3 separate regions of the Homo sapiens genome follow, and regions 2 and 3 are each linked to region 1. The links are contacts of gene promoters, found by promoter capture Hi-C in human tissues and cell types (Jung and others, 2019). All regions are on one chromosome and are shown on one strand. The core of a region is centred on a gene start or on the middle of the fragment in contact, and the rest is flanking DNA. Distances in the headings are between cores, read along the strand shown.

Region 1 (4,305 bases), core at 992-3,491:
TTGCCCAGAGTGTCCTTTTGTTCTGAGACCACTTTGCTGTGAAGTCCATTCTTCACTTTTTTTTTCCCCTCCACCAGGAGCACCTGAGCAGCCAGTAGGAGGAAGGAGAGCAGGGTGAGGCTACAGATCTTCATGGCTGCAGCTGGGCGTTCACCTGTTTGACAAAAGGCAAGTGAGTCAGTGGCAGGCAGCAGTTCAGCTGTGCAGGACTACACGCTGGCCTCCCCCTACCCTGACAGGTGCCTACATGATTTCAGAGTAGACCAAGAACGCTTCTGGCTCCTGGAGTCACTAGACAAACAGCCTGTCTACTCACATTTCCACTTGACTTGAGTCTTGAGTGTCACAAAAGTACCACTCTTTGGAGCCTCACGAACTCTCATTTATCATTTATTCACTCATTAACTCCTGCATCTGCTCACTCCTCACTCTTTCATTCACTCATTCAACAAGCATTTACTGAGCACCTACTATATGCCCCCCACCAGACTAGGTGTTGAAGAAATCACCATGATTGAGAAAGCCTCAGATTTGAAAGAGCTTAGAGACCACTCTTTGGGAGAATTTAAATAGCATTGATCAGGGAATCTATCCCGTCATCTCTGTTTCTGATATGAAACAAGTTACTGCTCCAAACTTTCAGCTCCAAAGGGCTGGATTTCTATCTCATGACTCCATATGGACACAGATGCCCAAAATGAGAAAAGACATGACAGATGCCCAAAATGAGAAAGGATGTGGTAAGCATCATGAAAGGTGATGTTGACCCAGAGTTGAACATGCCTGGGGTTTGGGTGGGGTGGGTGGGGTTGTGGGGGTGGGGGAGCTTTTTGTGGGGAAGTAAGAGTTTAAGGAAAGGTGTGAGGTGGGGTGGTTGTCTGATTTGCCTGGGCAAAGTGAATCAGGGTGGAGAGAGGTGAATTTCAACCAGATAGTTCACACTACAAGATCGAAGACAAGGATCATGAGAAATCATTGAATCAATAGGATGAACACCAACGTCACACTGAACTGCATGAATCTGATCATGTGTACAATAAAAACCCATGCTTAACAGAAGAAGAGAAGTCAGTTTCTATATGACACCTCCTGTGTGCTAAGTACTGGTCTAGGGTTTGATTCCCACCTTGTGAAATCCACACAAGAGCTCTTCCAGGTAGCTATTAATATGTCATCCCAGGTGACAGCTCTGACTCTTAAGGCTCAGACAGGTAAGTAAATTGCTCAGGATCTCATAGTGGGCAAGTTCAAAGCTGGTATGGGTAGCCAGATCAATCTCCTTATTCCTTTCTGTCACCCCTGGTTGATCACTTTTTGCTTTTCACATTTACTCTGCCCTTTAAAAACATTGCCAAAGAATAAGAAAAACAACTATGAACAATGACAATTTAGTTTCATATAACACATAATGATAAGATGATTTGTATTATTTGTGCTCCATTTAAAACAAAACACAGAATTTTTTATAAAAAGAGGCAGACCCAGGAAATGGTCCTGATCTGATTTCTACCCTAGAAGTTGGCCATCTTCTAGGGTTAAGAAGGAGAAAGACAATCACAAAAGGGCAGAGAACAGCAATAAATGGTGAAGAGGAGACTGGATATGCCAGAAAAACACCCAGTCATTTCTCACGGCCCTGGGGCTCAGCCCCCACCTGCCCATGATGGAATGCAGGCCCAAGGAACTCCAGGCCCTTGGTGGAGTGAGAAGTGGCAGCAGGTAATAAAGCTGTTAAAGGAGCGAGGCTCTTACCTTGTTCTGAGCACACGGATCCAGTGCAATCCCAGGCAGTGCGAGTGAATTGCAGGCTGCAGCTGTGTCAGGTAGAGTGCAAGGGGGGTAGACTATTCAACAGGAGCCAGGCTGACTGGGTTTTTATAACACTCACTGGGTTTTTACAACACTGTGGCACGTTACTCACAGCTCCTCCCAGCCACGCCCCTCCGAGGGAGCCGGTTCCTGCAGGGAAAGTGCTGGATGTAATCCAGTGAAAAGGGGGGTTACCTGCATGCCATCAAACGCTTCCTCTAGGCCCTTCCCTGTCCACCCTGTGGCCAGGATAGGAGGACAACTCAGCCTCACAGTGACCCTCCTTGATGGGGAGAGGACCCCAGCAGTGATGTCTATGGAGGAGTAAAATAACTATAATGACATGATCCGAGCTGCCAAACTACTGAGCCCATTTTACCTGAGTTCTCCTTTTCCCTCATCACATCCGCTCTAGTAGGGAGTGCAATGATTCCTCCCCTTTTACAAAAGCAGGAATTGGTTCTGGAGATATGTAAGAGCTTGTCCAAGTTCACAGAGGCAGGAAAAGGAACATCTCAAAATTAAAAGTGAGATTCTCTACATCCATGGTCTGATCTCTTCCTGCCTGCCACTCTCAATAAATCTTTGTTGAATGGGTGACTGAAGTTGCCGAAGTTTTCGTAGTGTCTGAGTTCCTTTTTCCATCTGAAGTTACTACATAAGCAGAGGATACCCTAATTCTAGAGGCAGGGAAATTTACATTAAAAATTCCCTCTTTTTTATCAGGGAATTCTACCAGGCTCTGAGAGGCTGGTAAAGAGGGAATTTTTAATATAAGATTACTGTTGTAAATACTTACCTTCAGGTCTCATTCAGAGAGCTCAGGCTGCCCTGCCTGCTACAGGCACAGTCCCACACCAGAATGACCCAGGTGGAATCCTGGCCACAGCATGTGTTTAGCTGAGTGCTATGCCCAAACCACTTAGCCTCTCCCATCATCCATTTGCAGTGTGCTGACAATAACAACGTCTCCTTTATAGCTGCATACTAAATTTTTACTGGGCTAAGCTGTTAACATAAAGTGGAGCAGAATCGTTTTGCCTCATGACAGGGTCTTAAGTTGTATACTTTGAAAACAGACATTTGTTATTTACATATGCAGCATTTAAAAAGAAACTCACTTCTACAGGGAAGATGTGGCCCTCATTATATATTATCACCTCACCTTTCATAGATTTTCAGAAGAAGAAATTGTTCACTTTTCCTTAATTCAGCCATAAGAAAACTATTGTTTAGTGTGATATTAAATGGCAACTGACTTTTGGGTTTGAGATAAGGCAATAGGGAGTGATGGGGACTGTGGCAAACTAGAGAGTCTCTGCCTCCATAGAGGTCAACACTCATCTCCAATTGACTGAGAAAATGCAGGGATTAGGCTCAGTATTGTCACACTGTCTGATTTTTAAAATGACATCCCCAAATCCAGATGTGTTTATATGAAATTGGTTGGCAGCTAATTAAAATTTTCTAAAAATAAAGCTGTAGCTCAACACTATGCAGGCCAAAACTTGTAACTGTGTTTGGATTTTATGAACGATCCACCTGTTTGAGAATTCCGTGGTCATAGCTATAGATGTTGACCAATTTACTCAGAGGCTCAGTCTCTGCATGAATCTGTTGGAAGAAGCCATTTCTGAAGCTGTGTGCCTCTCTCCTAAAATTGCCTCACCCAGGGGTCCGTCCTCACTATCCTCACAAACACCCCGCTGAGGCCCTGACCTCCACGAACAGGCTCTCTCATGCGGTATTTTGGAGGATTATTTGGACATAGGCAAGGCAAAGCTGCTTTGCTCAACAAGGGGAGTCTCCTACAAAATGGAAAATTCTACTTGATCCTTGGGAGGCAGGCAGATTCTTTCTGGAGGCAGATTGCAGTTGGAACACAAAACATATTTACAAGGAAACATGTGGACTCCGGGGTCTTTCTGGGAAGTGCTTCTCTGAGCTTTGCCAGGTAACACTGCACATTCCCCACTGGCTCCTTGTGGCCCTTCCCCTTCCTGTGACTCCCATCCCAGCGTCTGCTTTGCTCTTTCCCTTCTAGACTCAGCAGCACAGCATCAGAGCAGGCTGTGGGGCAGTCACCTCCTTGGCTCATCCTGCCCTTCCAACCTCATTTCCAGGTACTCACACGCAGACACATAAATACACATACACACTGACACACATACAAAGACACACACAAACACACACTGACACACTCAAACACACACAAACACACTCAAAGACACCACACTCATAGACACACAGAGACACACACATACTGACACCTAGACACATTCACACACATACTCATAGGCACACACACACAGAATCACACACAGTGACACTGACACACACACAGAGACAGACACACACACACATGCACACACACACTGCAATCTGGCCACACTGAAACCCTGTCCCACCATTTGCAGATACTCCATGCATGCGCCCACTTCCTGCCTTTGCCTCTGCTGTTCCCTGCACTTGGGATCCCCTTCCCTTCCTTCTCTG
Region 2 (4,305 bases), core at 462-2,961, 250 kb before region 1:
GAAATAATGAGTAATCTCTCTGGAGAAGATAGGCAGACATGTCAGCAGCCCCATAAAAGCCTAGAGACTTAAAATTTGGGGCTCCTCTTCTGTAGTGCAACCCACTCCATGCAGAGGTAACACCTGGCCCTTACTGTATTACGTTATAGGAATTGGAGCATGGGGAACACATACAATGCTACTCTGGCTGCTGTTTTTGCTATGAATAAGAAATTGTGTCTCTGATCCAGAGGTTTGTGTGTTTCTGTGTGTCTCCTCTGTAAAATCTCTTTTACCATGTAAGGTAACATTCATGGGTTTCAGGCAGTAGGATGTAGACATCTTTGGGGAGGCCATTATTAAGCCTACTGTAGCACCCTCTGGTCCCCAAAGACTCATCCATCCCATGTGAAAAATACATTCACCCCTCCTAGGGTCCCCATAAATCTCAACCCATTATAGCATCAACTCAAGTCCAAATCTCATCTAAGTTTCATCAACTAAAAAGTCCCAAATCTCATATCTAAATTAGATATGGGTGCAGCTCTGAGTATAATCTACTCTGGGGCAAAATTTTTTATCTAAGGACCTATGAAACTAGAAAGCAAGTTCTGTGCTCTACAACAGTAGTGGGACAGAAATAGGGTAACATTCATAGATGTTCCCATTCAAAAAGGGAGAAAAAGCCAAAAAGAAGACACCAGCCAATTCCTTTCAAAGTCCCATGGACAAACTGCATTAGGTTACTAAGCCTGGGAATAGCTGTGGCTCCTGCACCTGCCCTCTGTACCTGGGGCTCCACCCTCAGAGCCATCTTTTTGGATGAGGAGTACCACATGTCTGCTACTAAATAGTTTTATTAGCCCATTTCCTGCTAGTAGAATTTAGGGAACTCGGTTGCCTTCTTTCATTTCAACCACTCTGTCCGTTTTAGTCCAATTTGACAGTGTTTCTATTGGTAAACAAAACATTGTGAGTCATAGGGATTCACTCCATTGAAAGAGGCTTCTCAACAGATGTTTCCTGAATAATCCTATCTCTAGTTGGGGCTTCTGCTGAGATTGGTTGAGGGGGTTTGTGAGTCACATGCCTCTTCAAAGAGCTCTGTGTATCTGAATACTGTAATCTTTTGTGCCTCCTAAGCAGTAGCAAAAGACTACCCACACTTACAAATAGTTAAGATAATAAATTTCATATTGTGTATATTTTACCACAATTTAAAATTCAAAAACTTTTTAAAAAAAGGATGTGCAGCCATATTGTTGGCTTTCTCGCCAGAGCATGTTTTCCTTACAGTGGATCTCTTAGCTTTGGCATCTTTTGCAATCTGGATAGGCTGAGAATTACTCAAATCATCAAATCATAGTTTCATTTTCTAACAGTTCTCTCAGTTTATCCCTTTTCTCTCTCATTTTTCTAAAAGTAACAAGAAAAATCCAAGTCAGACCTTCATCACTGCTTGGAAACTTCAACTATACAAGTTCATTGCTTAAAAGTTCTGTTTTCTTACAATTATAGGACACAATTCATCTAAGCTTTCTACCACTGTATAACAAGAACCCTCTTTCCTTTAGTTTCCAAAAATATGTTTCTCAATTTCTTGTGAGCCCTCACCAGCAGCACTTTTAACATCTATATTTCTACAGTTTATGGTGTGTTAAGATTTTCTCTAGTATGATACAGGTTTTCTCTACCATGCTGTTCACTTACTTCCAAGCCCTCATAACACCCGTATTTTTACTAACAGCCTATTCGAGCATATTTAGGCCTCTTCTATCATATTCCTAAGAATTCTTCCAGTCTCTCTACAGATTATCCAAATCCAAATTACTTCCATAATTTTAGTGTTTGTTACAGCAAAGTTGTCATAATTTGGGGCCAGAAAAATCTTTATCTTGATGACTGAACTCACCTATTCTCCAATCTTGCTTTTTCTTTGGGGTGCCTTCCTTGTGGACTCTGGTCAAGATTAAACAAGAATAATAGTCCTACTCCTGGTGATTCCCAAGTTCAACCTTACAAATGAAGGGGAAAAGGGGCAGAAAGAGTGATGGTTTCAGGTACCCTAATCTGTATTTGTTTCCTATTGCTGCTTTAGCAAATTGCCACATAGTGGCTTAAAGCAACATAAATTTATTCTTCTTTGGAGTCCAATGTATACTGGGCAAAAGTCGAGGTATCAGCAGGATTCATTCCATCTGGATTATTCAGGGAAGAATGTTTCCTTACCCTTCCAAGCTTCTGAAGTCTGCCTGCGTCCCCTGTCTTATGGCTCCTTCCTGCATCTTCAGAGCCAGCAGCATAATATCTTCAAGTATCTCTCTGCTTTTGCCATCACATTATTTTCTCTGTGTCTCTGATTTACCTGACTTCCTCCTGTAAGGACTCTTAAGATGACATTGGACTCATCCAGATCAGCCAGTATAATCTGCTCATCTCAAGATCCTTAATTTAATCACATCTGCAAAGGCCTTCTTACTATGTAAAGTAACGTATTCATAGGCTCCAGGGTTTAGGACATGGACATCTTTGCTGGCCTATTTTTCAGCCTTCCACAACGGACAATAAACACACAGAACATATTAGATAAGCATTCAAAACCATCAATGAGAGCACACTATGAAACACTATTCTAAGGCCTTTAAATGCATAATCTCTCTTCATTCTCTGGCAATCAAGAATTTTGGCCAAGAAAAGAAACACAGTTTTCAATAAGGAAGCTCAGAAATTATTGATAACTCATAATGATCAAGAGAACAAAGTGAAAATGCCTTAGCATTGTGCTCAATGGTTTTAAGATATGACCCTAACTTTCCTGTCCAATCTCCATCTGCAACCTGTTTACCAATCAAACTAAATTTTCAACTGTTTTCAGAAGCTCCATGGTTTTTCCTTTTCTGCCTTTGCTCAGGCAATTCGTTCCATCTGAAATCTCTTTTCCGCCAACTGTGTATATCAGCATACTACTATTTCTTCTAGAAATTTATGTAAGTGGAGTAATAAAGTTTGTGTTCTTTTACATCTAGCTTCTTTCATTCAGCATATTTTTAAAAGATTTGTCATTTTTTTGTATTGCTAAATAATACTCTATTATATGATGATGTTACAAGTTATTAATATATTGTTGTTGGACATTTGCATTGTTTACTGTTTTGAGTTACGAATTAAGCTTCTACAAACATGGGCACAAATCTTTGCATAGATGTATTTTCATTTTTCCTTTGGTAAATACCTAGGAATGGAATATCTTCTTTGGTGAGGCATTTGTTTAACTATTTTGCCAATTTTAAGATGTGGTTGTTTTTCTTATTTTTGAGTTTGTTGGATATAAAAAGCTCGAGGAATAAATGCTCGGTGCCGTGAAGTAAAACCAGCAGTCAGGCAAAAGTTTAATCCTGTCAGCAAGGCAATTGACTTCTGCAGAAGGGTGCCACTTGCATCAACTAAGATCGCAAGAGCACAGAGAACAAAGGAGACTGGGGGGTTTTTATATCCTTAACGCAATTCCTACTTCTGTGTCCCTCCCCCATGGGTAGGGTCAGACTGCACAATCTGAGCTGACCCTATTGGCTACTTGTACATATTTTTCTAAATATAAAAGGGGAGGGGGACGTGAGCTACAGAGGTGGAGCATGTGAGACGTGCAGTTTCAGGGACACAATGGGTGCAGGTAACCAAGGGAATAGATGTGAGTTATTGATTAGGGATGACAGAAAAGGGGTAGGCTGTTTTACAGTAACTAGGGACAAGGAGGAACAGGAAAGTTGAGTTTGAGAACAAAAGACAAGGAAGTTAGCAGGCTACATTTTTGAAGAGAAACTCAGAGAAATTCATTGTATCTTACAACTCCTCCCTTTTAAATTTTCTTATGATTTTTCTCTTCAAACTCTTTAACATGTCTTGGCTTTGCCGTTTGTTTTGATCTTCTAAAAGGAAAAGCTTACTTGAATAAGGTGGAGGAGAACTAAGGGAGGCTTTAGTAAGTGCTGTTTGTACAATCTTTTGTATTTGCCTATGGATGCATGGTATGACACATCACCTAACGAGTTCGTCTAGTACGATTGCAAGAGAAATAAGAATTGAGGCTATGTTTCCTTTATATTTACCAAACCACTTTCCTAGCCATTCTGAAATAGGGTCATTGACTTCAGAATTTTTAGTTAATGCATTGGATAAAGCAGTAAATCCCTGCAAGGCCTTTGTTATGCTTCCATTGGGAGCAGTGTTGTTTGGGATGAAGGTGCAATATTGGGTTTTAATTATAACACAAACCCTACCTTTTTTGGCTAATAACATGTCTAGAGCTATTCTGTTTTCCCAAGTCAT
Region 3 (4,305 bases), core at 886-3,385, 140 kb before region 1:
ATAATAATTTTTATTAAACAACAATAAAAAGTTTCCCAATTAAAAAAAAAAGCTCAGGACTGGATGGCTTTACTGCTGGATTCTACCAAACTTTGAAAAATAACTACCAATTCTTCTCAAACTATTCCAAAAAATTGAAGGGAAGAGAATTCTTCCAAACTCATTCTATAAGGCCAGAATTAACCTGATACAAAACCAGACAAGGATACAACAACAAAAAAAGAATTTTGCAGGCCAGTATCCCTGATGAACATAAATGGAAAGTTCCTCAACAAAATACTAGCAAACTGAATCCAACAGCACATTAATAAGTTTATTTACTAAAACCAGGTGGGATTCATTCCAGGGATGCAAGAGTGGTTCAACATATGCAAATCAACAAACATAATACATCCCATCAACGGAATGAAGGACAAAAATCATATGATCACCACAATAGATGCAGAAAAACAGTTGATAAAATTCAACATCCCTCCATGATAAAAACTCTCAAACAATTAGGTTTAGAAGAAGGAACACACTTCATCTTAATAAAGGCCATATATGACAAATCCACAGCTAATATTGTACCAAACAGGGAAATGTTGGAAGTTTTTTCTCTAAAAACTGGAACAAGATAAGGATGCTTACCCTCACTACTCTGATTCCACATAGTACTGGAAGTTCTAGCCAGAGCAATTAGGCAACAGAAAGAAATAAAAGACATCCAAATTTGGAAGGAATAAGTCAAATTGACCATGTTTGCAGATGACATCCTCTTACCTACAGAAAAATCTAAAGACTCCACCAAAAAACTCTTAGAATTGATATACAAATTCAGTAAAGTTGTGAGATACAAAATCAACATACAAAAATCAGTAGCATTTCTATACACCAATAATAAACTATCTGTAAAAGGAACCCCACTTACAATAGCTACCCCCCAAAAAAAACCTCCACCTAGGAGTAAATTTAACCAAAGAGGTGAAAGATCTCTAGAATAAAGACTACAGAACACTAATAAAAGAAATTGAAGAGGACATAAAAAATTGGATAGATATCCCATGTTCATGGATTGGAAAAATTAATATTGTTAAGATTCCATACTACCCAAAGGAATCTACAGATTCAGTGCAATCTCTATCGAATTTTCAATGGCATTTTTCACAGAAATGGAAAAAAAGATTCTTAAATTTGTTAGGAACCATAAAAGACCCCAAATAGCCAAAGCAATTGTTTGTTTTATTTTATTTTATTTTATTTTATTTTATTTTATTTTATTTTATTTTATTTTATTTTATTTCACTTCATTTCATTTTATTTTTGAGACAGTCTCCCTCTGTCACACAGGTTGGAGTGCAGTTGCATGATCTCAGCTCACTGCAATCTCTCCCTCCTGGGTTCAAGCAATTCTCCTGCTTCAGCCACCTCAGTAGCTAGAATTACAGACATGCACTACCATGCCCTATTTTTAGTAGAGATAGGGTTTCACCATGTTGGCCAGGCTGGTCTCAAACTCCTGACCTCAAGTGATCCACCTGCCTCAGCCTCCCAAAGTGCTGGTATTACAGGCATGAGCCTCTGCTCCTAGCCAAGCCAAAGCAATTCTGAGCAAAAAGAACTGGAGGGATCACACTACTTTACTTTAAAATATAATACTATAGTAAAACAGCATTGTATTGGCATTAAAGCAACACATAAATCAATGGAACAGAATAGAGAACCCAGAAATAAATTCACATATTTATGGCCTATTGATTTTCTGCAACAGCACTAAGAACATAAACTGAAGAAAGGACACCTTTTTCAATAAATATTGCTGGGGAAACTGGATATTCATATGCAGAAGAATGAAACTAGAGCCCCATCTATCATAATATAAAAAAGTAACTCAAAACGAATCAAAGACTTAAGTGTAAGACCCCAAATTATGAAACTACTAAGAGAAAACATAAGGAAAATGTTCTGAGCAAAGATTTTATGGATAAGACCTCCAAAACACAGTCAACAAAGGCAAAAATAGACTAATGGGATTACATCAAACTAAACATTTCTGTGCAGCAAAGTAAACAATCAACAGAGTCATGTGACAAACTACAGAATGGGATAAAATATTTGCAAACGGTTTCTCTGACAAGGAATTAATATCTAGAATATACAAGGAACTTAACAGCAAAAAGCCAAATAATCTGATTTTTAAAATCGGCAATTGATCTGAACAGACGTTTCTCAAAAGAAGACATAAAATGGCCACTAAGTATTTGAAACAGTGCTCTATGTGACTAATGATTAGGGAAATGCAAATCAAAATCACAGTGAGATATTATCTCACGCCAGCTAGAATGGCTATCATCAAAAAGAAGAAAAAATAACAAAGCTAGCAAGAATGCAGATAAAAGGAAACTTAAAACATTTCAGCTTTTACTTTAGATTCAGGGGTTACATGTGCAGGTGTATTGCATGATGTTGAGGTTTCAGAATATGATTGAACCCATCTCCCAGGTGGTGAGCATAGTACCCAATATGTGGTTTTGCAACCCTTCCTTCCTCCTTCCCTCCCTCCTCTTATACTCCCCAGTGCCTAGCATTCCTATTTTTATGTCCATGCGTACCCAATGTTTAGCTCCCACTTATAAGTGAGAAATGTAGTATTTGGTTTTCTGTTTCTGCGTTAACTTGTTTAGGATAATGGCCTCCAGCTGCATTCATGTTGCTGCAAAATACATGATTTCATTCTTCTTTTTGTGGCTGCATGGTATTCCATGGTGTATACATACCACCACATTTTCTTTATCCAATCTGCCATTATTGGGCATCTAGGTTGATTCCATGTCTTTGCTACTGTGAATAGTGCTGTAATGAACATATAAGTGCATGTCTTTTTTTTGGTAGAACAATTTATTTTCCTGTGGGCCATATACCCAGTAGTGGGATTTCTGGGTTGAATGGTAATTCAGTTTTTATTAATAGTTCTTTAAGAAATCTCCAAAGTGATATTCACAGCGGTTGAACTAATTTACATTCCCACCAACAGTGTATAAGCGACAAAGAAAATTCTCACACATTGTTGGTAGGAATGTAAATTAGTACAGCTATTATGGAAAGCAGTGTGGAAGTTCCTTAACAGGCTAAAAATAGAACTACCATATGATCCAGTAATCTCGCTACTGGACCTATATCCAAAGAAAATAAAATCATATGTCGAAGAGATACCTGCACTCCCATCTTTACTGTAGTTTCATTTATAATAATGAAGATATGGAATCCACCGAAGTGTCTATCAACAGATGAAGAGATAAAGAAAATGTGGGATATATAGACAATGGAATGCAGCCATAAAAGAGAATGAAATCCTATCATTGGTGGCAACATGGATGAGCCTGGAGGACATTATGTTAAGTGATATAAGCCAGGCACAGAAAGACAAGTTTCATATATTCTCACTTACATGTGGGAGCTAAAAAAGTTGATCTCAGAGAAGTAGAGAGTAGAATAGTGGTTACTAGAAGCTGAGAAGGGTAGGGAGACAGAGATTGATCAATGAATACAAAATTATATATATGGATAGAGGAAATAAGTTTTAGTTTTAGTGTTCTATAGCATTGTAGGGTGACTATAGTGAACAATAACTTATTGTATATTTTCAAGTACTGAGAGGAGAAAATTTTGTACATTACCAGCACAAAGAAATGATAAACCTTTGAGATAATGGATATGCCAATTACACAGATTCGATCATTATGCATTGTATGCACGTATTGAAATGTCACTTCACCCCATAAATATGTGCAATTACATGTCATTTAAAAGTGATAAGAAAAATTAGTTTTTTTGATCTTATTATTGACTCGTAGGAAGCTTATATATTCTGAAAAGAAGTCCATTTTCAGATGTGTACTAAAAATATTTTCTTTCATTTTATGACTTACCTTTCCATTTTCTTTAATGGAAACTTTTAAAAACTTTTAAAAAACAAAGTTTTAAAAAAATCTAGTTAAGGTCCAGTTTGTTAACTTTTTTCTAATATGGCTTGTGACGCTTATTCCTTCTGCCTAGAATGTTCCTGGGATGTTTGTGGAGCTAAGTCCTCGCTTCCTTCAATTCTTTACTCAAATATGTCCACCCTATTTAATGTCAACTGTCCACCGTATTTAATGCCACCCTATTTAATATCACTAACACCTCCTCCCCCCTCACTCTTGACATTCATTCTAGTCTATTTTACATTTTTTTCTCATAGAACTCATAAATTTCTAGCATGCTTTATAACTTACATATTCATTATGTTTATTGTTTATTGTCCGTCTTTGTTCCAGTAAAATGTAA

What was found. Contacts are between HindIII fragments. The study calls those that stand out against the background at their distance.
Region 2: a contact is called between a fragment that was not itself captured here and the fragment with the promoter of FGFBP1 in region 1, in 2 of the 25 tissues and cell types used here (bladder and liver).
Region 3: a fragment that was not itself captured here is called in contact with the fragment with the promoter of FGFBP1 in region 1 in 1 of the 25 tissues and cell types used here (mesendoderm cells).

Annotation. Positions count from the first base shown.
Region 1 is chr4:15,936,499-15,940,803 of GRCh38, forward strand. It overlaps FGFBP1 (fibroblast growth factor binding protein 1), which reads right to left and starts at 2,242. Exons shown (of 3, transcript NM_005130.5): 1 at 2,189-2,242; 2 at 1,753-1,973; 3 at 1-154. The coding sequence starts at 134. The HindIII fragment of the contact is 13,154 bases long and covers 1-4,305 here.
Region 2 is chr4:15,690,643-15,694,947 of GRCh38, forward strand. No RefSeq gene overlaps it. Among named protein-coding and RNA genes, the nearest start is that of BST1, 10 kb to the right of the region's middle. The HindIII fragment of the contact is 5,285 bases long and covers 1-4,305 here.
Region 3 is chr4:15,801,273-15,805,577 of GRCh38, forward strand. All of the region lies in intron 1 of CD38 (CD38 molecule), which reads left to right. Among named protein-coding and RNA genes, the nearest start is that of CD38, 25 kb to the left of the region's middle. The HindIII fragment of the contact is 3,995 bases long and covers 139-4,133 here.